Linked DNA regions of Homo sapiens: all the other regions are linked to region 3. Evidence: promoter capture Hi-C in 16 types of primary human blood cells and fetal thymus (Javierre and others, 2016). All regions are on one chromosome and are shown on one strand. The core of a region is centred on a gene start or on the middle of the fragment in contact, and the rest is flanking DNA. Distances in the headings are between cores, read along the strand shown. Region 1 overlaps SNX30 (sorting nexin family member 30). Region 2 overlaps SNX30 (sorting nexin family member 30). Region 3 holds the start of KIAA1958.

Region 1 (4,650 bases), core at 1,339-3,838, 290 kb before region 3:
CTAAATTACATAATTTATTGGCACAGGTTCACAGTCCTCCTTGCAATCCTTTTTCCTTTCTGTAAGGTCATTAGTAACATGACCTTACAGACCCACTCTTTCATTTCTCATTTTAGTAATTTGAATCTTCTTTTTTTCTTAGTCAATCTAGCTAAAGGTCTGTCATTTTTCTTGATTTCTTTTTCAAAGAGCCAATTTTGGTTTCAGGTTTTTCTCCACTGTTTTAGACTGCTCTTTTTAATCTTGGGGTAGAAGAAGAGAAACAGAAACCTGAAAAGCCCTGAAATGCAACAGACTCTCCAGTGGGGATTTGGCTAGCAGCACCTAGCACAGTGCCCGACACTTGATAAATATTTGATGAATAAATGAATGGAATATGAACTTCCTAAGTCCAGTTTCTCTCATCCATTTCCTCTGGGAGAGAATTCTGTTTTCTGGCCAGTGAAATAAACCTTTCTTCTGAAGACAAACAGGTCACATAGAAAGATTCCTCTTTTCTTTTCAGCATCATCATGTTGAATGAGCCAAGAGTAATTTACTTATTGAAACAAAATGAAAATCAAATTAAGGAGAAGACGTGAACATTTCTACTATAATCAGATCCATGGTAATATAAATATAACATAATTGTGAATATTTATTGTGAGCTGCTTATTTGTTAAGGCTATCTGTAATTTGGCCTTGAAGTCATAATTTATAGTAAATGAATCCTAGCTCACTCAGGATTTTCTTCTCCACAATTTATGTACTCTTTCTGCAGAACTGGTTGTTTCCCCTTCCCCATATGCCTTGAGTTTTATCATAGTCTCACTATATAATCTTACTATTCTAGAAAGCATTCTTCCTTTTCTTTCATCTTTTACTTTCTGAATATTTAAGGTACACCACACACCTCAAGATGCACCTATTCCTACTATCAGTATCTATCAAAATATATGTAAGTCTTAGCTACTTGGGAAGATTGCTTGAGCCCAGGAGTTCAAAGCTGCAGTGAGCCACAATCACGCCACTGCACTCCAGCTTGAATGACAAAGCGAGATCCTATCTCTTAAAAAAAAAAAGCAAATAATCTTCTTTGTAGCCATATAAAGTATGTTGTTCATATGAGTTATGACTATCAGTTATGAGAAGAGATTTTGGACCCTATTGTACATAACCTTATTAAGCTATCAAAACAACCTTATGAGACAGGTACTATTATTAACCCCATTTTATGGATGGGACAACAGGGTTCAGAGGAGGTAAGTGATTGCCAGCCAGTAAGTGATTATATTAGAACTCCCTTGGCCAACTCTAAAGGCTCTATTCTCTCTACGCAGCTGCAACGGCCTCACACCTACATTGCTCTAACCAACCTCTCTAACAATTCTCAACTTCTTTACACAGTGTGCTTCCTTGCTTTGGAACAAGAGGTGGTAAGTATGCTTTATTCATTTAGCTTCTGGCAACATTGTTTCTCACAATTAACAGATTAACAGATTCTCTTGACCCATTTACTGCAACACCACAAATCTACAGATAGCTGGGAAGTTCCTTGATTCACGAATAAATCAATAGCAAGACTTTTCAAGTAGCCTTTTCATAATTTAAACACAAGGAGAATTTAAAATGGGAAATGTGTTTTTGTTTTAAATCAAGGAGCAAACACGCCAGGATCAACACTTGAAGACATATTCGTTTATGTAGTAACAAAACTGGTTTATGTGAAATGCAAACATTGCTTTCATAACTTACGATCTTGGGATACTGCAATGTATCTTTAATAAACATTACCCTTTCTACTCACACTCAGTACTGGGTACAGCAAAATCTAAGAGAATTTGAATGATTTGAGAAAAGCAAAATACAGTGGCTACCTTGTTCTTCAGAGTCAGACTGGAAGTGAAGATGTGACCATTTTGCTCAAACCATGGCAGGGGAGACACGCCTAGATATCTCCACACGCACACACGAGTACCACAGCCCCACACCTGTCAATCCACAAATCTAAACAATGTCTAGCCTATCATACTATATGAGATACTTTCTAGGTTACTCAAAAAGCTTCAAGAATACCTAAAATAATGTGCCAGGTCTCCCAGCACACCTGGAGAGGAGGATCTGGTTACAGCAGAAGAGTGAAGGCAACTCAACTGCATCCTCTTACAAAGAGGTGTCAGTCTAATCCCCAACAGAGCCACCTCCCAGAAACACTTCTTCCATTTCCACTTGTTGACAAGTTGGTCGTTCCTCTCTCTGGGGAGAAACTGAAATGAAGCTAGAGTAACCCCTCACTAGAATAAGGATTGTTCTAAAGGAAACCAGAACAGAGCTAACGTCACCGGGCTGAAAACACCTCTTCCTCTTTCACGGAGACTGGCAATGTTCTAGGCAAGGAAAGTCCTCTGCCAGGAAGGATGAGGGCAAGGGCATGAAATGGGGTCCAATAAAGTCTGGACAACTGTGAAACAACCGAAGGTTTGCCCCTGCTCCATGACTTGAACCAGGAAAAAAAAGAATGTCTCAAGCCAGAACAAAAAGTTCACAAAATTGACCACAGAGGGAAAGGGTAAAACTCACCACAAGCCAACATTCACCCATATTTGACCTGAACAGATTTGAAAAACTACCAGAAAAGCACTGTCTCTTTTTTCCCTTTGTCACAGTTTAGCCTTATCTCTTTGGGGTTTTGAGCAGTTATGAAAATGTGGCTGTTATCCCTTCTCAAAAACAGTCATAACTGCTCAACAGGACTATGAGTGAGAGCCCTCACTGGCCCCTTTTTTTGAAGCATGATCAGAGTTTGTTTGGTATCAACCATTATTAACCAAATTAGAAAGAGAGAGGGAAGATTCTTTCTCCCTAATTTGGTCAAATAGCCACCCGGGGAGACTATACTCTTGAAGGCTGGGAGAAGGACCCTTCTGACACAGCAATGCTGCATCCTTCCAAGGCTGGCAGACATACTGACATAAATTCTTTCACACACACGCAAGACAGACTATACACGATTTATACATTTTTTCAACTTAACGTTTTTTTCCATTGTTGCATATAAGTATATACAGGGCTGCCTTATTCCTTTTAATACCACATTTCAAAAACTACCATAGTTTACAAAACCAGCACCCTACTAATAGCCATATAAGCTTTTATCTTTTGCTATTAAAAATAATACTGCAACAGGTATCCTTATACACACAGCATTTAGCACGGGTCCATTTATTGAGTCACCAAATATCTGTATACTCCACCCATACCAGGTTTGGTTCATGCATGGAAATTTAGCAATAAGCAAACCAGATCAGGCCCCTTGCCTTCAAGAAGTTTACAGCACAGTACTGGAGAAAGTAAACCAAGTATGTCTGGTGGTTTAAGTTCTGCGAAGCAAGATTAAAGCCAGGTAAAGGGGGAGAATAACTGGGCAGGGAGGGGTCTGCTACTAGTTTGTTTTTTGTTTGTTTGTTTATTTGTTTGTTTTTGACACAGAGTCTCACTCTGTCACCAGGCTGGAGTGCAGTGGCCCGATCTCGGCTCACTGCAACTTCTGCCTCCTGGGTTCAAGAGATTCTCCTGCCTCAGCCTCCTGAGTAGCTGGGACTACAGGCACGCGCCACCACGCCCAGCTAATTTTTGTATTTTTAGTAGAGATGGGGTTTCACCATGTTGGCCAGGATGGTCTCTATCTCTTGACCTCGTGATCCGCCTGCCTCGGCCTCCCAAAGTGCTGGGATTACAGGCGTGAGCCACCGCGCCCGGCCAGGGGCTGCTACTAGTTTATACAGGGAGGTTGGGGGAGGCCTGAATGAAATAGATGAACAAGCCTGCAGGCTGTCTGGGCCAAAAGGCGTGAGGCAAGGGAGTGGGCAGGGGGAGAGAGAAGTGGACGGAGGCCAGAGAAGCAGCAGAGCCAGATTACCCATGTACTTGGAGCCCATGGAGGATTTGAGGGGAATGTGTGAGAACTGAGAAGTCTCTGGATGGTTTCAAGCAAAAGCAAAAAAGAGGCCAGGCGCGGTGGCTCATACCTGTAATCCCAGCACTTTGGGGGGACGAGGTGGGCAGATCACAAGGTCGGGAGTTCGAGACCAGCCTGGCCAACATGGTGAAACCCCATCTCTACTAAAAATACAAAAAATTAGTCGGGTGTGGTGGCAGGTGCCTGTAATCCCAGCTACTCGGGAGGCTGAGGCAGGAGAATTGCTTGCACCCAGGAAACAGAGGTTGCAGTGAGTCGAAACCGCACCACAACACTCCAGCCTGGCCAACAGAGTGAGACTCCATCTCAAAAATTAATTAATTAATTAATTAAATTTAAAAAGCAAGAGACATGATGCGACTGATGTTTCTTATGTTTTAAATAATCCCTCCGGTTGCTGCCTGGATATATGACTGAAGGTGGGAAGGTGGAAGCAGGAAGACGAGTCAGGCGGCTGGTACAGTAATGCAGGCAAGAGGGGATGACAGCAGTCAGGGTAGCAGCAGTGGAGAGAGTGAGAAGTGATGAGATTCTGGACATGGTATTTCAGAAGCACTTGCTGATGGCTTAGGTATGGGATGAAAAAGGGAAGAGCCGAGGCTAATTCCAAGGCTTATCCTTGGAATTAAGAGTGAGCTAGATAACTAGCTTGACATGCCTGTTGGAGATGCAGGGTTAAACATCAAGAAGGC
Region 2 (4,760 bases), core at 1,989-4,488, 300 kb before region 3:
TAATAAAGTAACAACTAACAGTACACTAAAAGAATTTTTGGAAAAAAAATATATACCAGGATCAAGTCAAATGTATTCCAGGGAAGCAAGAATGATTTAACATTAGGAAATTTATCAATACAATTTATTACATTAATAACATTACTTCATTACACTATATTACATTAATATACATTACTTCAACCACTGTTGAAGATACTCATGTCCAAAACTACCAAAATATTTACTGGCATCACTCATATCAGCCATTCCATTTAAATCTCTAAGTAAAATTAAGAAGTAAAAAGAAAGTTCCCGGCCAGGTGCAGTGGCTCATGCCTGTAATCCCAGTACTTTGAGAGGCCAAGGCGGGTGGATCACGAGGTCAAAGATTGAAACCAGCCTGGCCAACATGGTGAAACCCCATCTCTACTAAAAATACAAAAATTAGCTGGGCGTGGTGGCACACACCTGTAGTCTCAGCTACTTGGGAGACTGAGGCAGGAGAATCGCTTGAACCCAGGAGGCGGAGGTTGCAGTGAGCAGCGCAATTGCGCCACTGCACTCCAGCCTGGCGACAGAGCAAGGCTCCGTCTCAAAAAAAAAAAAAAAAAAAAAAAAAAAAAGTTCCTAAATATGTTTAAAAGTATTTATCAGAAAACATCAGCAATTAATCTTGAAGACATTATTCTAAGTGAACGAAGCTAGATGAGAAAAGCCACATGCTATATAATTCCATTTATATGAAATGTCAGAACAGGCAAATCCTGAGAGACAGAAAGCAGACTTGGTTGCCAGGGGCTACAGGTAGGGGGAACAGGGAGAGCCAGCTTAATAAAGACCAAATTTCTTTTTGGGGTGACAAAATATTCTAAAATTAGATAGCGATGATGGTTGCACAACCCTGTGAATATACACTCAATTATATACCTTAAAATGGTGAATTTCATGCTCTGTAAATTATCTCCAATAACAATAAAACAATAAAAAATGTAGTGGACATATTTTAAAAATGAAGACCTTTTAAATCACAAAGCCATGTCCACTACATTCAGATATAAAGTATTTGCCATAATTCAAAACCATTCTGGAAAGTCTAGTTACCGCAATAATATAGAGAAGAATACTTGAACTCATACAGTGATCTGCCACATGAGTTCATGGCAATAGGTCAGGCTCCTCCCAAATTATCTAAAATTTGTAATATACATAATAGGGAGCAAATGTGTTTAAAGCATTTTTAAATGGTAAACATGAACTGCTATATTTACTAAATGTTCTGGGAAAGAAGTGGAGGACAAAGACTATATGGTAGATTGCATTAGTGTTCATAATTATGAACTTCCCATCCTTTAAAAGGATCATATATTCTTCTTATTGCCAAGTGACTTCCCACAGGAAGACACATCCCCACCACACTGACTTTGGCCTTGGACACGTGACTTGCTCCAGCCACTGGTACATGGTACATGAATGTACATCGGATCAGAGCAGATCCTTTAAGAGCCAACGCATGCTTCCACCAGCTCCCTTGCTCCTCGACTTTGAAAGTAGTGTGTCCCAAACAGGGGCTGCTCCTTTGGAATGGGAAGACTTGCAGGAGAGGGCCAGAGAAGCTGACTCACAGCCACTGACACACGGCATGACCTAGAAATACATGTTTGTTGCACACCTTAGCATTTTTGGAGTTATTACCACAGCAAAGCTGACTAGTACATATAATCATTAAAATGTCTGTATAATTTTTAACAGTCTAAATAGGACACAGTGATATAAAAAGTAGGGAATATTAAGACATAGAGATTTATCTTTTGTTTTGGAGAGTTATTCAAATGTATCTTAACTATTGATAGTAAGTCTCAAGTTCTGCACTGCTACTTGCTTATTAGTAGGAAGTTCAGTTTCCCTTGCCACACAGCCCAGGAATTCCCATCTCAAATATTCTCCAAAAACTCCAAGGTTGCTTGTACAAGTATCTCCAAGTTCCCAAGGCCCATAGCCTATGGTTTCTAAGTTAGTATCCCCCCTGAACAGTTTTATGTGTTTCTACTTTGGATTCAGGACCATTTTTCATAAGGCAAGGCTTTTTCTTTAGACATGGTTTAAGAGATCACCTGTTTCAAAGCTTTGTCACTAAAGTTGTTTAGAAACTGAAAATGTTTTTCATAGGTTTTCTATTAGAAAATCTGCCCTTCAAGCAAATTCTACCCATTGGCCTGATGCAAAAGAACACTTCTTAACAAGATCATAAAGTCAAAATGAAAGAATCCAGGTCCACATTCCTTGGCAAACTTACCAGTGTCTGTTAATAGATTTTTCTAAGAATCTCCAGACTAACATTCACTTCTCCAGACATTCTTATGATTCTTAGGAGCCAAGATTTTCCCCAACTCTCAGCTGCATTTACCATACACAATTCCTGTTCATTCCTTCTAAGGAAGATCCAGTATTTCAAGCATATACTAAACACCGAATACACAAGGCCAAAATCCCAATGCAGTGCTACCAAACAAAACAGAATATAGCATCTGTGTTTAAATAACTTTAGTTGGGAATATGGACATGAGACCTCTAACTCTGATGCAATGCAATAGTGGCTATGAACAGAGCTCCATGAATGGATGGGGGCAACTTGAGAAGAATAAGTAGACTTGCCAAATGGAAAAACAAGGCTGGGGGAGAGCTTGGCCAGGACATTCCAGGCTGAGAAATCCCCAAAAATCAAGGGCGAGAGGCATTTCCGAGAGCCTGTTCCTAACAATAACTAAGATCCCCAACACAAAAATTCTTCCTCTGCTGCTGGTCAAGGATGTGCATGCCACCTGGAGGACTCAACAGAACAAGCAGACAGCTTTCTACAAAGACAGAATGCACCTTTCCAGAGGGCACGAACAAAGAGAACACAACTCGACCTAAAATCCTGTTCTCGGGGCCAGGTGCAGTGGCGCACTCATGTAATCCCAGCATTTTGGGAGGCCAAGGCAGGAGGATTGCTTGAGCCCAGGAGTTCAAGACCAGCCTGGGCAACATAGTGAAACCCTATCTCTACAAAAAATACAAAAATTAGCTGGGCGTGGTGGCGCATGCCTGTGGTCCCATCTACTGGGGAGGCTGAGGTGGGAGGATCACCTAAGCCCAGGAGGTTGAGGCTGTGGTGAGCCGAGATCGTGCCACTGCACTCCAGCCTGAGTCACAGAGCAAGACACTGCCTCAAGAAAGAAACAAAAAATCCTGAAATCCTGCTCTCTTTTCTGCCCACTTTGACCCTCATTCTCAGGATCTTGCCAACTGAAAACTTATAAACCTAAGGAAGGCATTCCTCCACTGAAACTTCTGCACCAAAATCACACAAGGGTCTAGGGTGTAGAAGCCCCCAGAGATCATCCAAGTTGTCTCTATTACACATATGGAAAAGTCTTATACGTAACAAGCATGAGGTCCCTCGAGTGGTGTGTGAGGAGCCCAGGTAGGGCTGTGCTACACCACAATCCAGGCGTTCCTTAGGTAGGAAGAAGGTGCCTAGAACGACCCCTTCATAAACAATAGTTCTTTTCCTACCCTTCGCCCAATTCCTCTTAACTGTACCATCTGTTCATCTTACAAAGCCTGGTTCTCATTGACATGTTTCTGTGCTACCATCTGACATGGTACTACACACGCGGAGTGCACTCTGCATGTGACCTAAGAAGTCAGGTGCCTAAGGAAAGTCCAAGAAAACGGCATTTTGAGTTTTCAGAACAAAGGCCTAGAGGAAACAAAATATCATACAGAGCTGAGTATGTGCTTGTTGATTAATCATCACCCCAGCCCAAACCTTCTCAAGGACAAAAAAAAACACTCAAGTGAGGAACAGGGCAGGACTCAACTTCCAATAGCAGGTGCCAAGTGGTTACTGTTAATCCACTCTTACAGCCCACACTTCTCAGATGTGCTGCAAAAGCCTTGCACTTTTAGCAAGACTAAAAGTGTCCTTGCCTTGGGTGGATCCCCTGAGGTCAGGAGTTCAAGACCAGCCTGATCAATATGGTAGAACCCTGTTTCTAGTAAACATACAAAAAAAAATTAGCCAGGTGTGGTGGCATGCGTCTGTAGTCCCAGCTACTCGGGAGGCTGAGACAGAAGAACTGCTTGAACCCGGGAGGCAGAGGTTGCAGTGAGCCAAGATCGCGCCACTGTACTCTACCCTGGGCGACAGAGCGAGACTCCATCTTTAAAAAAAAAAAAAGCGTCCTTGCCTCAAAAATTACCGAAAACTCACCATTCCTCTACAATAGGGACTGTCTCTCTGAAACCCATAGGCACCTTGGGGGCCAAAAATTATGCACCAACATTTGCATGTGCACATGCAAATGCCAATCTTCTTTGGGAGCTTAGATGTTACATCTAAGCTTCTTAGGAGAGAACCTATAATTATTAGAGCCTCAAAAATACCTAGGGAGGGAAAAAAATCACGACAGATTCTAAACTGTCTCTCTAAACTAAAAATAGGAAACAGAAATACATTTCGACCTACCTGAGCTACCCAAATTCAAACTGCCCTCTAGTATAGTACTTCCACATTTAATGATTTGTGACACCCATACCCTACCTATGGGGCTGGGGGCTGTCCTTAAATCCTCAATCCAAACCTAAAATGAACACAAGAGGATGTGCTAAATGAGAAGGAAACGTGTGACTACATTCAAATAGGTCATACTTCCTTCCACAGTGTCTTCACTTCATTTTTTTCTCCCCGTACAGAACAGGTTCTCCCTGTACAGTACTAGTTTTGTGGCACTCAA
Region 3 (4,776 bases), core at 1-2,500:
ACCTGACTGGCTTGTTAGCTGTTTATTTCGTCGGGAGAGGATTCCGTCTTGCGAATCCTAACGAGTTCGGGAAAAAACAAAACTTTACTCCTAAACTTCAAAACACACACACACACACACACACACACACGCACACACACTAAATACATATAATTGTAAAAATCACAGCCACGTTCATTTTTTTTAAAGTCCCAATCTAAAACCTTAAAGAAAAAAAAAGACTTGAAGGAACCAAAAACATTCTTTGATTTTGGTTTGACGTTGTTCAGTCCAACCTCCTCCTACCCAGGGGAATACATTTCTCGATATATTTGATAACAAACACAAATCACTGTGCGCAGCCTCAGATGGGGGTGGGGGGGCGGAAGAGCCTTTTGGAGAAAGCCCTCCTCCGTTAGAAACAATAAATAAGGGAGCGAAGCCATGCACGTTCCTTCACACACGCCCCAAACGCACCTCGGCGAGCCACCCGAGGAGGAAAACTAGTGGGGCAGAGCCCTGAACCACCTCTCTTTCTCCATAAGCATCTCAAGACTTGGAAACTAAGAGGACAGACCTTTTCCTCCTCCTTCCCGCCCTCCTTCCCACCTCCGACAGACCCAAGAGCAGGAGCGGGGGCGCCAGCCCCACGCACTGCGCCTGCAGCCGCCGCTGAGACCCGAGCTGCCGGGCGGCGGGGCGGCCCGGGGCAGGCGGACCGGAGCCGCCACCGGGGGTCTCTGCGCCTCGCACCCCCAAGCCCGGCGCTGCCGACGAGCGGCCGCCCGGGTCCCTGCCCTCGCTCCGGCCTCGCTCCCCCGAGAGGAGACAAAAGGAAGGTTCAGCCGGGTCACCGCGCGGCCGCTGACGGGGAAGCAGAGTCGACCCCGGCGCGGCCGCCCCCCACACAAAGGGGCTCCCCGCCTGGGTCGCGGCGTCGGCGCACTCGTCCCCGCCCCGCGCGCGGGCTCTCACCCACCTGCAGGTGTCTGTGCGTCTGTCCATAGGAACGCGGTCGGCGCGGGGGGGCCTGCGAGAGCCGGGCAGCCCGGGCTGGACGGGACGGGCCGAAGGGGCGCGAGGGCGGGAGGAGAGCGGCCAGAGGGCCGGGCACCAAAGGTAAGTGGAGCGGGGAAGGCGCCCGGCGGGCGGCGGACCGAGGAGCGGGGCGGGGGGCGGGGGCGCCAGCCTGGCTCGGCCGACCGCCGCGCGCCGCTCCGTGCGCCCCGAGCTCCGCGCGCCCGGCTCGGAGCGCGGCGGGCGGGCAGGGGGCGGGGCGCGGGCGGGCCGGGGCGGGGCCGGCGAGCGGGGCGGGGGCTCGGACCCCGGGCTCCAGCCGGCACCGGAAACGCGCCGTGGTCGGCGAGACCCACAGGAAGTGTGTAACGACACCTCCTACGGCACGCACCGAGCTCGCAGTCGTTGCTGCCCCGAGGAGGTGTAGATCGAGCCTCCTGCCGCACACACGTTCGCACGCGGCGGCCGGCGCGCTGGACCGAGAGGTTGGAGCAATCCATCCTCCGCGCGCACGAGCTCAGTCCCTACTGCCCCGACAGGTGTGGAACCCGCCGTCCCCGCTATGGTCCGAGGAAGTGTACAGCACTGCTCCCTACTACACGTCCTGGGCCCGCGGTCCCCGATGCCCCCCGGAGCTCTGTGCACCTCCACTGAAACGCAAGGAGCAGACAGAACCTACACCATCCGTGAGGTGTGTGATTTCCCTTATAACGCATTGAGTAGAGTTACCTCTCCGCCCAGGGATGTGCATTAACACTTTCTACCGAGATACTACGTACAGCCCATAGTCACCGCTGCCCCGTGAAGGTGCCCAACAACCACCTGTAACACACACACCCCTATCCCATCGAGGGAGCGGGGATGCTTAATGATACCTAAAATACACTAAAACTAGGTCCTCCAGCAAACCAGAGACACAAGAACACCACCTACACGACTCAGCACAGCAAAGATGAAGCTGGACTTGCTAGGTGCTACCAGGCTTGGTCCACCTTTATTTTACCTAACACTTTCGTAGTACTTGCTGTGTGCCCACAGTTTGCACTGAGTACTTAGCGAATATTAATTTATTTAATCCTAAGAACTCTACATAGTGGGTGCTATTAACATTGCCATTTTATGATAAGGAAACTGAGGCACAGAGAAATTAAGAAATTTTTTCAACATCACATAGATAGTAGCTAGAGGAGCCTGGATTCATTCCGGACAGTCTGGCTTCAGAGTCTGCTCTTAACTCCCTTTCTATTTACAGCACTGACCATCTCCAAAACAGTAATCATGGTAATAAATAACATTTACACCATATCTGTCAGGCCTTACGTAGTGCCCACATCTTGGCCTCACCTCATCTGTGACAGGCATACCCCAGTCACTTGTACCCTTGGAGTAGGTAAGGGAAGAGAAGAATATTTTTGAGGGAGAGAAAGAAGCTAACTTCTTAGCAAAGGAGAAAATATCCAGGGTCGTCCAGAATCCAAGCAGGTAACTTCATTACCACATCAAGCATGTTCTCTTTTAGGTAGCTTCTGCCAACCCCTCTCCATCTCTAGAGCTGATTCCGGTTGATGTTCTTAACACCTTCCTCTATCAACACTCTTCCAGGTCTAGGCTGAAATTTAAAATCTGTGTAAATGTTGACACAATAATGTTTGTACAAACAAAAAAGACCAAAAATGAAAACCCCCTAGTTAATTGCTGCATATTCTAAAGATGGGATCTTGTGGAGAAATTGGAACTCTTATGCAATGCTGATAGGAATGTAGATGGTACCACCACTATGCAAAACAGTGGGGAAGTTCCTCAAAAAACTAAAACTAGAGCTACCATATGATCCAGCAATCCCACTTCTGGGTAAATATCCAAAAGAATTGAAAGCAGGATATCGAAGAGATATTTGCACATTCATGTTCATTGCAGCACTATTCACAATAGCCAAGAGGTTGAAGCAGCCCAAATGTTCATCAACAGATGAAGAGATGAATGAAAATGTGATATATACATATAATGGAATATTATTCAGCCTTAAAAAGGAAGGAAATCTTATCACAGGCTACAACATAGATGAACCTTGAGGATGTTGTGCCAAGTGCAATAAACCAGTCACAAAAGGACAAATACTGTTATGATTTGACCTATATGAACTATGTAGAGGTATGTAAACTGTGGGATTATGTCAAACTTGTGGAAACAAGACGGTAGAATAGTGGTTGCTAGAGGGTAGAGGGAGGGGAAAATGGTGATATAATGTTTACTGGGTACAGAGTTTCAATTTTGCAAGATGAAAAATTTCTAGAGATGTTACACAATAATGTAAATATAACACCACCGAACTGTACACTTAAAAGTAGTTACAAAGGTAAATTTTAAATTGTTTTTGCCACAATCAACTTCAAAACAAATCTAATTTTATTTGTTTAAAGGATATTTCACTACAATGAATTTTTTTAATGATGCAGGCATCCAACCATGATGAGGTACCTTGTTGAACAAACTAACTCTGCCACTGAGAACGATGAAAGCTGTTTAAAAAAATAAATAAGTCTGTTTAAAACAATTGGAGAGCAACCCTGTCATCCAAGGCTTGAGAGTCCACGAGCCCCCCAGGAAGAAGAGAAATACTCTGAAGTGAGTCCTGCATTCTCAGCCGCTTTTCCTTCTCAGGGCATTGTTGATTTGTGTCTAGGAGTGTAGAAGTCAGAAAGAAGCACCCTAGAGCTTACCGGCAGTCTTACTGGCCTGGAGATACAAAATTTGGAGTCAGGTCTATTAAGGCAGCTAGGACTTGAAAAACGAAGATCCTAGAGAAAGCAATCACAGTAAACCTAGTGGGTTGGCTGAGGGCCATAATCCCGGCACTTTGGGAGGGTGCGGCAGGAGGATTGCTTGAGGCCAGGAGTTTGAGACCACCTTGGGTAGCATAGTGAGACCCTCGTCTCTACAAAAAGAAAAAAAAATTAGCTGGGCATGGTGGCCCACATCTCTAGTTCCAGCTACTCAGGAGGAGTAGAGGAGAAAGAGAGAAGAAAGGAGACCTGTGAGATTATGCTTTTATTAGGTCTATAGGCATTATGCCCTTAAAAAACACATGCACAAAGGAGAGGAACTTATTTCCAAGACTCTGGTGTTAACCATTAGGTTTTTGTTTTGTTCTGTTTTGTTTTGAGACAAGGTCTCCCTCTGTTGCCTAGGCTGGAGTGCAGTGGCGTGATTTCAGCTCACTGCATCCTCTACCTCCCTGCCTCAGTCGATCCTCATGCCTCAGCCTCTTGAGTAGCTGGGACTAGAGATGTGGGCCACTACGCCCAGCTAATTTTTTTTTCTTTTTGTAGAGACAGGGGTCTCACTGTGTTACCCAGGGTGGTCTCAAACTCCTGGCCTCAAACAGTCCTCCTGCCGCACCCTCCCAAAGTGTTGGGATTACAGCCCTCAGTCAACCATTAGGTTTTTTCATGGTCAGCTGAGGGATGTGTTGCGTTTGGGAGTCTATAAGATGAACAAGTGGGCTATATCTCAACGACACTGGGAGGGGAAGTTTGTTTTGTTTTGTTTCTTGAGACAGAGTCTTGCTGTGTTGCCCGGGCTGGAGTGCAGTGGCATGATCTCAGCTCACTGCAGCCTCCTCTGCCTCCCAGATTCAAGCGATTCTCATGCCTCAGCCTCTCGAGTAGCTGGGATTACAGGCACACGCCATCCTTCCCATCTAATTTTTGTATTTTTAGTAGAGGCAAGGTTTCACCATATTTGGCCAGGCTGGTCTTGAACTCCTGAGCTCAAGTGATC

Evidence for each region. Contacts are between HindIII fragments. The CHiCAGO score rates a contact against its expected background, and 5 or more counts as called.
Region 1: a fragment that was not itself captured here is called in contact with the fragment with the promoter of KIAA1958 in region 3 in 1 of 17 cell types (naive CD8 T cells); the score reaches 5.3 in naive CD8 T cells.
Region 2: a contact is called between a fragment that was not itself captured here and the fragment with the promoter of KIAA1958 in region 3, in 5 of 17 cell types (naive B cells, total B cells, naive CD8 T cells and 2 more). The highest score is 9.8, in naive B cells.

Annotation. Positions count from the first base shown.
Region 1 is chr9:112,769,806-112,774,455 of GRCh38, reverse strand. The region is part of intron 1 of SNX30 (sorting nexin family member 30); the gene reads right to left. Among named protein-coding and RNA genes, the nearest start is that of SNX30, 21 kb to the right of the region's middle. The HindIII fragment of the contact is 1,085 bases long and covers 2,046-3,130 here.
Region 2 is chr9:112,787,245-112,792,004 of GRCh38, reverse strand. All of the region lies in intron 1 of SNX30 (sorting nexin family member 30), which reads right to left. Among named protein-coding and RNA genes, the nearest start is that of SNX30, 39 kb to the right of the region's middle. The HindIII fragment of the contact is 2,263 bases long and covers 2,107-4,369 here.
Region 3 is chr9:112,483,301-112,488,076 of GRCh38, reverse strand. It overlaps KIAA1958, which reads right to left and starts at 1,250. Exons shown (of 4, transcript NM_133465.4): 1 at 959-1,250. HSDL2-AS1 (HSDL2 antisense RNA 1) reads left to right here and starts at 433. Exons shown (of 5, transcript NR_171779.1): 1 at 433-1,098; 2 at 1,536-1,687. RefSeq lists silencers at 652-1,141, 1,222-1,281 and an enhancer at 1,712-1,771. The HindIII fragment of the contact is 12,105 bases long and covers 1-4,776 here.